2 separate regions of the Homo sapiens genome follow, and region 2 is linked to region 1. Evidence: promoter capture Hi-C in human tissues and cell types (Jung and others, 2019). All regions are on one chromosome and are shown on one strand. The core of a region is centred on a gene start or on the middle of the fragment in contact, and the rest is flanking DNA. Distances in the headings are between cores, read along the strand shown. Region 1 holds the start of ZNF718 (zinc finger protein 718). Region 2 holds the start of PDE6B (phosphodiesterase 6B).

Region 1 (5,921 bases), core at 3,422-5,921:
CATCCTCAAATGTCTCATTACTCAAAGATGCTGAGTAATGATGCCCTCATAGTGATCCACGGAGGAGACACTCAGGCTGACTTTGTGTGGTGCAAACAGAAAATGGCGCTGTCCTGGTGGTCCTGCACATCTTGGCTCCAGATGTGATATCCCCTGTCCCTGATCAGCTAACTCTGAGGTAAGAAGAAGGACAAAAGTACTCTACTCCCATAACACAGTATAGAGGAGGAAGGTACACTTGTGATTATGGTTGTCATTAAGGCTCTGGATATTTTGTGGCCTTACCTCCCACTGCTAAGATGCTTGTTTACACTTAAAGATTCTGCCACAGGATTCTGTTCCCATCAGAAGCCTCTCACACAGCTGTAGCAGGTCACTGAACAAGATCTGGAAAACTCAAAGGGCCCCACTCTAAAAATGGGGCTTAAGATGTCTACATTGACCTCTCATGATGCAGAAAATGTCTTCTGTGAGTTTTTCGTATGTCTTCAACCCAAAGTCTGGTCCAGTGTTGGGAATCCCAGGCAGAGGCCAACTTTTGTATGCAGATTCTAGGTGGGATCAATGTGCCTCTACATTCTTAGGGGTTAGAGTAAGCAGAGTAAAACCAGAGGAGAGATCACCTCATGGAGGCTCCTTCAACACATTCTTAAGAATATTTTGACCTAAAAGGAAATACTGGGATAAACATAATATAAGTAGAGAGTTTTCTGGGGCCAAAGCTTGAAGACTGCAATCCTGGAGTATAAAGCTACCTGAATATACACTCCAATTACAAGTATATTTGTAAAGGCAAAAAGGAAGGCAGGATAGAAAGTTGTCAGGAATTCTTATTTACAGAAGTAACATTGGTTAGTGATTGGTTATATACATTGTTAAGCTATTGGGTGTGGATTATAGTGTCCAGTGTGGCATTATTAGGTTAATTTATAGCCACTTGTGCCAATAGCAAGCAATTTCAAAAGACAAATAGTTCAAAGACGGGAACAGTACATCACTGTGGTCTCATTTTAACCAGTCTCTGGGTCTGATCATTAAAAGAACATGTATTTCTCAAATAAAAGTTCTTTTCTTCTCTCAAATCCCAGAAAATAAATTCAGAATTTGGAACTGCACATTTAGGTCTTGGAGGGCTGGTGAGCTATGCACATTTGCGGGCATTTGGGCAAAGGGAGGAGGGAGAGAATTGAAGTTCTCAAGTTTAATCAATGCACATGTATGATCCTGGTTGGGTTTATGGGCCCCGTGATCTCTGAATCCGTGTCAGATCTGAAGATGACAGGAGCACTGAAGGAGGTGAAATAACTGATTGCTGTCCTGAAGTGATTTTTGTAGAAATCTAGTCTAACTGCTCTAGAAGGGACTGTAGATCCCAAATAGAGAGACTATTTTGTTTGCAGATTTGGGGAGCACCTTGCTGCACTTTGTCATACAATTGTGGGTTGTGGCTGGAATCCTGAGAAGAAAGGTTTTTCTCTCAAGTGAAGCCTGGTGGGCACTTTGTATATAACGTCCAGTACTTCTAAACAGTGCATGGAAAATATGACTAAAAGAAAAATTTTCAGCCAGGCACGGTGGCTCACGCCTATAATCCCAGCACTTTGGGAGGCCAAGGCCGGTGGATCATGAGGTCAGAAGATGGAGACCATCCTGGCCAACATGGCGAAACCCCGTCTCTACTAAAAATACAAAAAAATTAGCTGAGTGTGGTGGCGCGCCTGTAATCCCAACTACTCAGGAGGCTGAGCAGGTGAATCGCTTGAACCTGGGAGGTGGAGAATGCGGTGAGCCGAGATCGCACTACTGCACTCCAGCCTGGCGACACAGCGAAGACTCCGTCTTAAAAAAAAAAAAAAAGAGAAAAATTATCTCCAATCCTAAAAAAATTTTCCACCATAATAGAACAGCAAGAAAATGTTTTGTTATATAATTAAACCAAAATGTGATGTGCATCACAGGCAATCTACTAAGAGACTGCAAACACAGAAAAAAAGTCACCATTAGTTCTTAAGTAGAAGACTTGAAAGCACCATTTACACAGTTTATTATTTCACCTAGTAATTTGGGAGGTAATCTGGGTTTTCTAATTGGTAATATTCAAAAGAAAAATAAACTTCCCACATCTTCATGACAGGACGTAGACCCACAATGTGGAGCCAGGTACCTGCTGAAGGCAGCCTCCCACCCTCCTACAGAAACTGTGGGATATATTCTTGCTATTCACATTTCAAAGCAATAGTTCCCAAGTCCTAGATAAAGACAAGTCTGAGTCAAAAAAGACAAATGACCTATTTAACTGATAAAAATGATTTACATATATTTCAAAAACTGGTGAAAATAATTATAAAAATTTTCCACCTAAATGCTTTAAGAAAAGGGAGAAGAGCAAAAATTCTTCCCTCACTCTAAAGAGAAATCATTAAGCCTCTTCTAATTTGTATTTGCTCCTACAACAGCCAGGTCTAAGGCATGGTCTTGAATTCCCTAACGTCTGAATTCTTGTAGGCACGTAAGGGATGAACTTGGGCACACTGTATGCACAGAAAAGAGGATTTGTGGGGAAGGAAAAAGCACAAGACAGCAAGGAGCTATCAAGAGCCATGGGGTGGGGGCAGGGCACAACTGATGAAAGGACTGGTTTGTGCTACAGGTACAGGCCCAGGCAGGGCTACGCACTGACTGATTCCTGAGTCCATAAAGGCATAGGAGATTAAGATCAGATGGTCCAGAAGCCTGGGTTGGAGAAGGAAACGGGCTCCTGCTAAACAGATCTGGGGTTGAGATGAGCCAGGAGTCTTCTGGGCACTGCGTGTGCTTTTGGCAGAAAACTGTAGGAGCAAAACTGCCATGGGCACAATTCCTGAGGGTAGAACCCTGTCTTAGGCCAGGTGTGGCCGTGCGAATGCCCAGTGGGCGTGCTCAGGAGTGGGTTAGCATTGGGTGGGGGCTGGCAGCAGGATGCGGGGAAGGGATGTTTCTTAGAACTGCTTTCCTCTAAGTTCCCAGTCCCCTTTCTCCCCGGGAGGAGGCCTGGAGGAAGAGGACAGTGCCCAGCGGGACAGCGCCTGTGCAGAACCCGGCCGCGCCTCCTGCGGACACCAGGTGACTTCCTCCAACCCAGACTCGGCCATGTCTTTCTTCTGACAGAAAACTTGCGGAGTTTCCTCAACACCAGTCAATGCTCCAACCCCAACGGGGTGTCCAGCAACTCACTAACGACACCACCCAGAGTCAGCGCTGACCCCACAAGCTCAGCACTCTTCCCGCAGCTGCTCTCCTGCAGACGCCAGTCCCTGCCTCTGGACACCCGTCTTCATTTCTGAACCCCTGCCTACAAACCAGGGACGCCCACACCCTCCTCAAGTTCAATAATGTGGCAGAACTACTCACAGAACTAAGAGAAGCGCTGTGCGCACCGACACCAGCGTATTCTAAAAGATGCGAACAGACACCAGCGTATTCAGGAACAGCCACGCGGAGGAGGCGCACAGGGCAAGGGGACTGGCGGCAAAGTTGGCGCAGGCAGGTGATTTGCTTCGCTTCCTCACACACCTCACAAAAGCCTTTCCTTCAAGACCCGCTGGCAGTCCCCAAACCACGAGCCACGGCAGAGCTTTCCCATTAATAAGTCCTGTTTGCTCACATGAACTCCATGTTTTGATGGGGCCTCAATCTCATTCTGAACAGGGTAAAGTAGGGACGGGATTCCGGACCACAGCTCCTCCCACGCCGGCACCGCGCAGGCCGCCGCGGTGTCTTCCGGATGAGCTCCTACTCACTCCACAGCCCGGGGAAAGTGCAGGGCTACCGGCGCAGAGCTGCACAAGGAGGGCTGCAGGCTGGGCCAGAGCCGCTGTACGGGGACTGACAAGAGCGCGGGTCCCTCACCGGAGGGGACTGAGGACAGAGGGCTGAGCGGGAACTCCATTCACAGACTCCTCCCACCGCCGCCATTTCCCGCCGGTTCCGATGAGGCCTCCACAGCCTTGGGACGCCCTGCCCTGCACACTCACCATTTCCCGACTTCAGGAGTGTCCCAGAGTCTTAGATACGAATCATCCAATACCGGCAGGTCACAGAGCCACAGAGGCTGAGGCTGTGGCAGAATCACCGAGGCTTCCCTAAGGAGCGGGAGCAGAGCGATGAGGCCCTAACCGAGCTCTGGCTGGAGCTACAAGCAAAAGCCGCGCCAGATCCCGGATGCCGCACCCTCCTCTCTGCTGCGCGCCTCATTCGGCAGTTGTCAATCCAGCGCTCTAATTGGATAGAGCTGTAAGTCTCCCGCCTCAGGCCTTGAGTGACAGAAGTTGCAACCATACACAGCACTGAATGAGGCGAGAGTGACAGGCTCTGGCCTCCTGGTACTTTGAGGCAGGTTTTTTGTGTTTGTTTTTTGAGTCTGGCTCTTCTCGCCCAGGCTGGAGTGCAGTGGCGCGAACTCGGCTCTCTGCAACCTCTGCCTCCCGGGTTTAAGCGATTCTCCTCAGCCTCCCAAGTAGCTGGGATTACAGGTGCCCACCACCACACCCGGCCAATTTCTGTATTTTTAGCAGAGACAGGGTTTCACCATGTTGGCCAGGCTGGTCTTGAACTCCTGACCTCAGGGTATCTGTTCGCCTATGTCTCCCAAAATGCTGGGATTAAAGGCGTGAGCCACCACGCCCGGCCCAGGCTGGGGTGTTATCTCTGTGCTTGGCTTGGTACAGCCCAGTGGTCATTTTTTTAACCTTGTGGTATGTAAGGTTAGGTCCATTTATAATATAAATTATACACACACGCATGCATGCACGCACATGCACACACACGTACACATGCACGCGTGCATACACAAACTTGTTCACAAACGGAAACAATATAATGACAATTATTTTAATGTTTTATAACCTTTCTGGCCTCTGGTCTTTTGAGTAGGACACATGAGATTTTAAGAAGGAAGTAATCCTCTAAAAAATAAAATGTTAGCTATTAGTGAATTTTCAATTTTTTATTAGCCACATCGAAAATAATAAAAACAAGTGAGATTGTTTGTGATAATTTTAGCCTACTATATCCAAAATATTATTGTTTTAATATGTGATCAATATATAATTGAGAGGTGAAGCCAGCTGGACTTCCTGGGTAAACTGGGGACTTGGAGAACTTTCCTGTCTTACAAGAGGATTGTAAAATGTACCAATCAGCACTCTGTAAAAACGCACCAATCAGTGCTCTGTAGCTAGCAAGGGGATTGTAAAATGCACCAATCAGCACTCTGTAAAATGCACCAATCAGCAGGATCCTAAAAGTAGCCAATTGCAGGGAGGATTGAAAAAAGGGCACTGTGATAGGACAAAAACGGAACACGGGAGGGCACAATTAAGGGGAAATGGGAGGTGGAATAAAAGCTGACCACCCCAGCCAGCAGTGGCAACCAACTGGGGTCCCCTTCGATGCTGTGGAAGCTTTGTTATTTCCCTCTTCAAAATAAACCTTGCTACTGCTCACTCTTTGGGTTCGTGCTATCTTTAAAAGCTGTAACACTCACCACAAAGGTCCGTGGCTTCATTCTTGGTCAGCAAGACCACAAACCCACCGGAAGGAACCAACTCCAGACACATAATTAGGAATACCTATATTTTGCCAGGCGCTGTGGCTCACGCCTGTAATCCCAGCACTTTGGGAGGCTGAGGTGGGTGGATCACGAGGTCAGGAGATCGAGACCATCCTGGCTAACATGGTGAAAGCCCGTCTCTATTAAAAATACAAAAAAATTACCCAGGCGTGGTGGCGGGTACCTGTAGTCCCAGCTACTCAGGAGGCTGAGGCAGGAGAATGGCGTGAACCCGAGAGGCAGAGCTTGCAGTGAGCCGAGATTGCACCACTGCACTCCAACCTGAGCGACAGAGCAAGACTCCGTCTCAAAAAAAAAAAAAAAAAAAGAA
Region 2 (5,921 bases), core at 1,964-4,463, 500 kb before region 1:
GCCTGGCACCGCCTGGGCTCCCTGTAGGCCCGAGAGTGTGAGCCCTGGGCAGCCCCTCCCTCCATGGTGGCTCCTGGGACAGACCCCTGGGGACAGGAGGGCCCACAGGCCAGGCTACTGCAGCCTTCACCCTGGGCTGGCACCCTCAGCTCCAGGAGGATGGACGCTTGCAGCTCAGGGAGGAGCGGGTTACCCGGGGCCTGCCTGCCCTGCAGACTCAGGGCCCGCTGTGCTCAGGAGCAGGCTGGTTTAGCCGCTGCAGCACCCTTGAGAGGCAGACATTAGTTCCCCAATGTAAACAGGGAGACAAGGCTCAGGAGGGCGAGACTCCGGGTGGCCCGGGCAGGAGGGTGAGACTCCGGGTGGCCCGGGTGTTGCGTGCTGGCCACCCACGCCCCGTCTGAGGGACTCTTCCACCACAGCCACGAGCTGCTCTCCTGAACTGGCCGGTGCGGCTCACGCCCTCCAAAGAGGGTGCAGTGGGCCAGACTGAGGTGTGCTCTGCCTCAGTCCCCCCTTCTGTAAACTGAGACATGAACCCAGAAGCCACTTGGCAGTGCTTAGGGTGCTGAGATGCACTTCATGAGGCTTTGCACTTCATGAGGATTTGCACTTCATGAAGATTTGCTTTTTTTGGTGGCAATTCAGACTCAAGTTTCTGTTCCCTTAGTCTGAGATAACTAAGACTCCACAGAATGGAGGGACAGACACCATGCCCAGCCCCTTGGAATGGCACCAGCTACACTGGGCAGGGGAGAGGCCTCGGAGGTCAGTCCTGGGGCAGGTGCGGCCATGGCACTGGGGGTGGGGGTGGCAGGACCTAGAACAGCCCTGGGGAACAGGCCAGGCCGAGGGACGGACCTAGGACAGCCCAGCAGTTTGAGGGGGACCCGCAGAGCAGGGAAGAGACACCATCAGCCGGGTGGGGACAAAGGGGTGAAGGGGTGGTGGCAGCGGGGGACAAACTCCTGGGGGCAAGAAAGACACAGCCCAGATTTGGGACAGGGTGGGGATGAGAAGTTGTCTTGGGGATTGTGTGCAGGAGGAAGGAAGGGAGACGGGGAGGATGGCAGAAAAGGAGGGAGGAGGGTGGCAGGAGAGTGAGGGGAGGAGGGAGGAGGGAACGGGGGGAGGGAGGAGCAGCTGGTGTCCACCCCAGGCCCCACTGCTGTGAAGTTTCCTGGCTTCCTGGTAACTCATGCTCCTGATGCACGATTGATTTGTGGGTGCCCCACTTCTTAGGAGGGAGGTGGAGATGAAGGTAACCCGGGGATTACTGAATCTAGGTCACTGCCTTGCTGCTTGCTTACTGCCATTGGGATAAGAGGATTGCCACTTCCGGCCTGGTGCGGTGGCTCACGCCTGTTATCCCAGCACTTTGGAAATCTGAGGCAGGTTGATCACCTGAGGTCAGGAGTTCGAGAACAGCCTGACCAACATGACGAAACTCTGTCTCTATTAAAAATACAAAAATTAGCCGGGTGTGGTGGCGGGCACCTCTAGTCCTAGCTACTCAGGAGGCCAAGGCAGGAGAATCGCTTGAACGTGGGAGACGGAGGTTGCAGTGAGCTGACATCATGCCACTGTACTCCAGCCTGGTGACAGAGCAAGACTCTGTCTCAAAAAAAAAAAAAACCCACAAACGAAAACAAACCAGGATTGCCACTCCCCAGCTGCCTGGGAAGGAGGGACCACACCTGCCCCTGGGCTGGCAGCCTGGTGGGTAATTCCCAAGGCTCATCCAGCAAGAGCGGAGGCTGCCTGGGCCTCTTGCAGCCTCCTTAGCTGTGGGGACAGAAAAGGGGAGAGGAAGCTGGGACGGGTGCAGGACAGGGAGAAGGGGCTTCCCCCCTCCCCTTCTTCCTCAGAGCCCCCTTGCCGGGCAGCTCCTCAGGGCCTTTCCAGGTCTCTGCTGGCCGCTGCCCTCACCCAGTCTGGCAGGCACCTCACACCCCTCTTGTTCTCCAGTCCCGCCAGGACCGCCTCTGTCCTCGGGAAGCGTCTGCCCTAGCCCAGGCTTTGCATGAACAGGCCCTGCCCTTCCCTCCTTCAGTGACTCCAGTGAGCCTGTCTCGATTCTGTCTCTTGTCCCTCCCCAGTCCCACCCTGGACCCCTGTGCTCAGTGGCTACCAGGTTTGTTCTCCCCTGGCGGCTGGCGTGGGCTCCCATGGGATAAAGCTGCTTCTGCCACAGTGGAAGTTTGGGGTTCCCCTGGCTCTCCCTCCCTGTGGGCGTCTGCACCACCTTCGACTGTGACCTCTTCTTCCCAAATCCCAAGGCAGGGCCTCCCTCCCAGCCCAGAGAGCCCTGAAGCCCCCATCTGGTCAGTCTTCCTGGAAGCCAGGGGTCCTCACAGGGACTACATGGTCCCCACCATGGGATGTGGATGCAGAATCAGGGGCACCCCGGTTTGAGCCTGAGTCTGCTTCAGCCGAGGCTCCTAGACTCAGGTCTAACCAACTCAGTGGCCATGCGATGTCAGCTTGAGCCAGAAGCCGAGTCGGAGAGGCAGGCGGCCAGGGCACAGTGCCGGGAGGGGGCTCTAGGTACTTGCTCCTCAGCACAGAACTAGCCTGTGCCCTGACAAGAGGCCTCCCTGGAGGCCTGAGGATCCGAGCTGACCCTTAGACACCTGGGACAGGTGCAAGAGATGCACACAGCCGCCTCCCTGAGGCTCCGCACAGACCCACCTCGGCCACGTCCTCGACGTTCACCATCTTTTTGGTCTGAGCCACGTGGCCCACGACCCCGATGTCCAGTGGGAAGACGATCTCGGAGTCGGGGGGCACCAGGCAGTCCTCCAGGACGCTGTCCGGCTGCACGCTGAAAAGCCTGGTGGCCAGCTCGGCCACGCCGTTGCGCTGGCGGTACATGAAGAGGCTGCAGCGGTCGGCCTGCAGGAGGGTGCAGAGGCGCCGCAGGACCTTGAAGACCACGCGCTCCATGTTGATGCTCTCCTGCATATCCTGCACCAGCTCCAGCAGCGCCGTGCTCTCCTCCACCTGGCAGAGGTCCCGGAGGCTGTCGCAGTCCGGCGGGCACCCGTCCTCGCAGGCCGCGGCCACATTCTCAGGGCTCAGTTTCTTCCCAAAGTACTGGCGGGCAAAATCGGGGTTCTGGTCCAGAAAGCTCCGGGCCTGCTCCTCACTGAGGCTCATGGTGGCTGCCTGTCCCTGGAGACGCTGCTGCTCCAGGCACGCATGGACTCCCAGGAAACCCTGTCATCAGCAAAGTCTTTCTTAGTGAGATTAGGAACCCCGGGGGCGGGTCAGCTGACTCACTCCTACAAATGGGGGCCTGCGCTCCCTCTCCTCAGACCCTGGGACTTCCCACCTTCCAGGAAAACCAGACCCTGTGGAATGAAGGCTGGGAGTAACTGTTGGGGGATCTCCTGCCTGTTGCAGGCGTCACGGGTGGCTGGGCACAGGCATTTGGCTTCTAGCGGACCAGGCCCTGAGAACTAATCCCCTGAGGAGGTTATCCCACACACAGCATGACGCTTTCTGCTGGTGGAGCTGCCTGAGGGTTTGGGTTGGTCCCACAGGTGGCCCCAGGCCCTCCTGGGAGCCCAGACCTGGGCTCGGGTGTGCTGGGGAGGTGGTGGGGCACTGGCCCTGCCTCCAGGAGATGCAGTTCACCCCTGTGCAGGGAGAGGGGGCTGGGTAATCACACCAGGACCCAAATGCCCAGAGGCCAGCAAGGGGACCCTGGATGTGGAGGTGGGACCACATCCACCTTCCCCCACACTCTGAGGGATGCAGAGTTGCTAGTCAGCCTTTACCTGCTGTCAGGCCCCGGCTGGGACAAGCTTCGGGGTGACGCCGCTCTGAGGCCACATGGCTTTCAGTGGAAAAAGGACCTGAATGTTGGGGGGCTGCCTGGCAACAAAGCCCGACCTCTCCTCTCCGCTGTCACCTCAGCAAGCCTTGCCTGCTCCCATAGGCCTCTCGGCTCCTGGGCCAGCTCCCTGCAGGCCAGCAGGGGTGATGTGGCCAGAAGCACCTTGGCTGGGTCTGGCATGGGCGCCGGCCTGGCGGGCGGGTGGCAGTGTTCCTGATTTCCCTGAATATAAAAACGCTGATTGTCGCTTTCCAGGCACCTTTGTGCTGCCAGATCCTGGGCTTAAGGTTTCTTCCCATCTTTTCCAGTTTATCTGTCCATGTTGTCACCATACTTTTAACCAGGATGCAAGGTTTTCATGTGGTTCTTTTACTGCACTCAGCTGGTAGACGTGTGTGCACGCGTGCATGAGTGTGCACATACGTGTGTGCACGGAGTGTGAGTGTGCGCACGTGTAGGTGTGTGTGTTCGTGTGAGCACGTGTGCATGACAGCCAGGTGCCCTCAGGAGCGCAGAGTTCTCTCAGCACGAGGCCAGGCCCCGGGGAAGCTTCTGCGAGGGCCCTGGGCTGCACCGCTGCAGCTGCCTGTCTCGGAGGCTGCTCTGAGGCAGCATCTGCGCCGTCCACAGTGGGCCCAGCTGGGTGTGCGACGTGTGCCCTTGTGCCATGATGTTCCTGCCTCCACTTAGTCACAAAGTCACTTCCTTTCAAGGATCTGCTGAGAGGCTTCCCCTTTTTCCTAAAAATAGTGAATTCTCACTGGGGACGGGGGAGTGGGGATGTGGGTGGGGGGAGGGGTTGTGGGGCCGCTGCAGTGCTTGGGTTTGGGGCCGGGGGGAGGGTCGCCTGCTTTGCATTCAGTCCCAGAACAGCCTCCAGAGCCTGCCGGTTGCATTTCCCAACTCCCAGGGATGAGCTCACATTGCGCCTGGATGTGAGGATGGCGGCCGGAAACCAGCCTTCAGGTCCTCGGTTGCCCCACCCTGAGGTCTATGCACACGCAGCCCCTCCCCACCTCCTTTTTCCTCTCCGGGCTCTTTCCCGTCCCCCAGTTCCTCACAACCCCCTTCTGGACACCCCCACTTTGCCCCTTGCTCCCCTCCGTCAGCGAGGGGCCTGCCAACCTCCCTCCCACAGGGGCCTCCGTGCCCGCAGAACTGAGACACTCACCTGCGTGTGAAATGAGCTAAGCGCATCTTGAGTGGGACCGCAGAGCTGGAGAGGCCTTGCTGGGGGCATGAGGGCCCTGGGGTGGGGCTGGGGGTGGCAGCTGACCTCAGGCTCTGCCTTGCCACCTGCCCAAGGGAGCGTGGAGTGGCTGGGCTCAGTGTGGAGAGCAGGTGGGACAGGGAAGGGGTGCTGGGCTGAGGATTTGTGGTGCTAGCGGGAGTGAGGGTTGGCTGGGAGGGCTCAGTGTGGAGAGTGGGTGGGACGGGGAAGGGGTGCTGGACTGAAGATTTGGGGCGCTAGCGGGAGTGAGGGTTGGCTGGGAGGAGCCCACAGTCTGCGGCCATAGTCCACTCACCCTAACACGACTGTGACAGCAGCTTCCACCCGCAGCACCGCGTTCCTCACCTGTGGCTTTGTCCTGCCCCAGGAGCCCGTCGTGATTGTAGGTGAGTAGGTTCAGGGCGGCAAGGAGTCCACAGCCTCTGGGGAACCCTGAGCCATGACCATGGGAGTTGTGTGTGAACACCGCAGCTCCCTTACCTGCAGGGGCCCAGAGGTAACTGCTCCATGGCACACTATTGGTTCTATCTTTTCCCCATCTCACTTCCCTACATACCTACTGATGATGCTGGGGGACCCTGATTGGGTTGGACTTGACACAGTCAAAAAGACACACCTGTGAGGCACACCTGTGAGACACACCTGTGAGACACAGCTGTGAGACGCACCTGTAAGGCTTACCTGTGAGATGCACCTGTGACATGCACCTGTGAGATGCACCTGTGAGACACACCTGTGAGACACACCTGTGAGACGCACCTGTGAGACGCACCTGTGAGGCTCACCTGTGACATGCACCTGAGACACACCTGTGAGACGCACCTGTGAGACACACGTGAGACGCACCTG

Evidence for each region. Contacts are between HindIII fragments. The study calls those that stand out against the background at their distance.
Region 2: a contact is called between the fragment with the promoter of PDE6B here and a fragment that was not itself captured in region 1, in 2 of the 25 tissues and cell types used here (dorsolateral prefrontal cortex and lymphoblastoid cells).

The regions. Positions count from the first base shown.
Region 1 is chr4:122,766-128,686 of GRCh38, reverse strand. ZNF718 (zinc finger protein 718) reads right to left here and starts at 4,186. Exons shown (of 4, transcript NM_001039127.6): 1 at 4,014-4,186. The coding sequence starts at 4,016. LOC124900641 reads left to right here and starts at 3,096. Exons shown (of 1, transcript XM_047416469.1): 1 at 3,096-5,483. The coding sequence starts at 3,439. The coding sequence ends at 3,915. RefSeq lists enhancers at 2,952-3,011, 3,272-3,471, 3,762-4,201. The HindIII fragment of the contact is 5,599 bases long and covers 1,872-5,921 here.
Region 2 is chr4:622,865-628,785 of GRCh38, reverse strand. PDE6B (phosphodiesterase 6B) reads right to left here and starts at 3,213. Exons shown (of 22, transcript NM_000283.4): 1 at 2,692-3,213. The coding sequence starts at 3,159. RefSeq lists enhancers at 1,559-2,547, 2,548-3,537, 4,527-5,517. The HindIII fragment of the contact is 19,693 bases long and covers 1-4,100 here.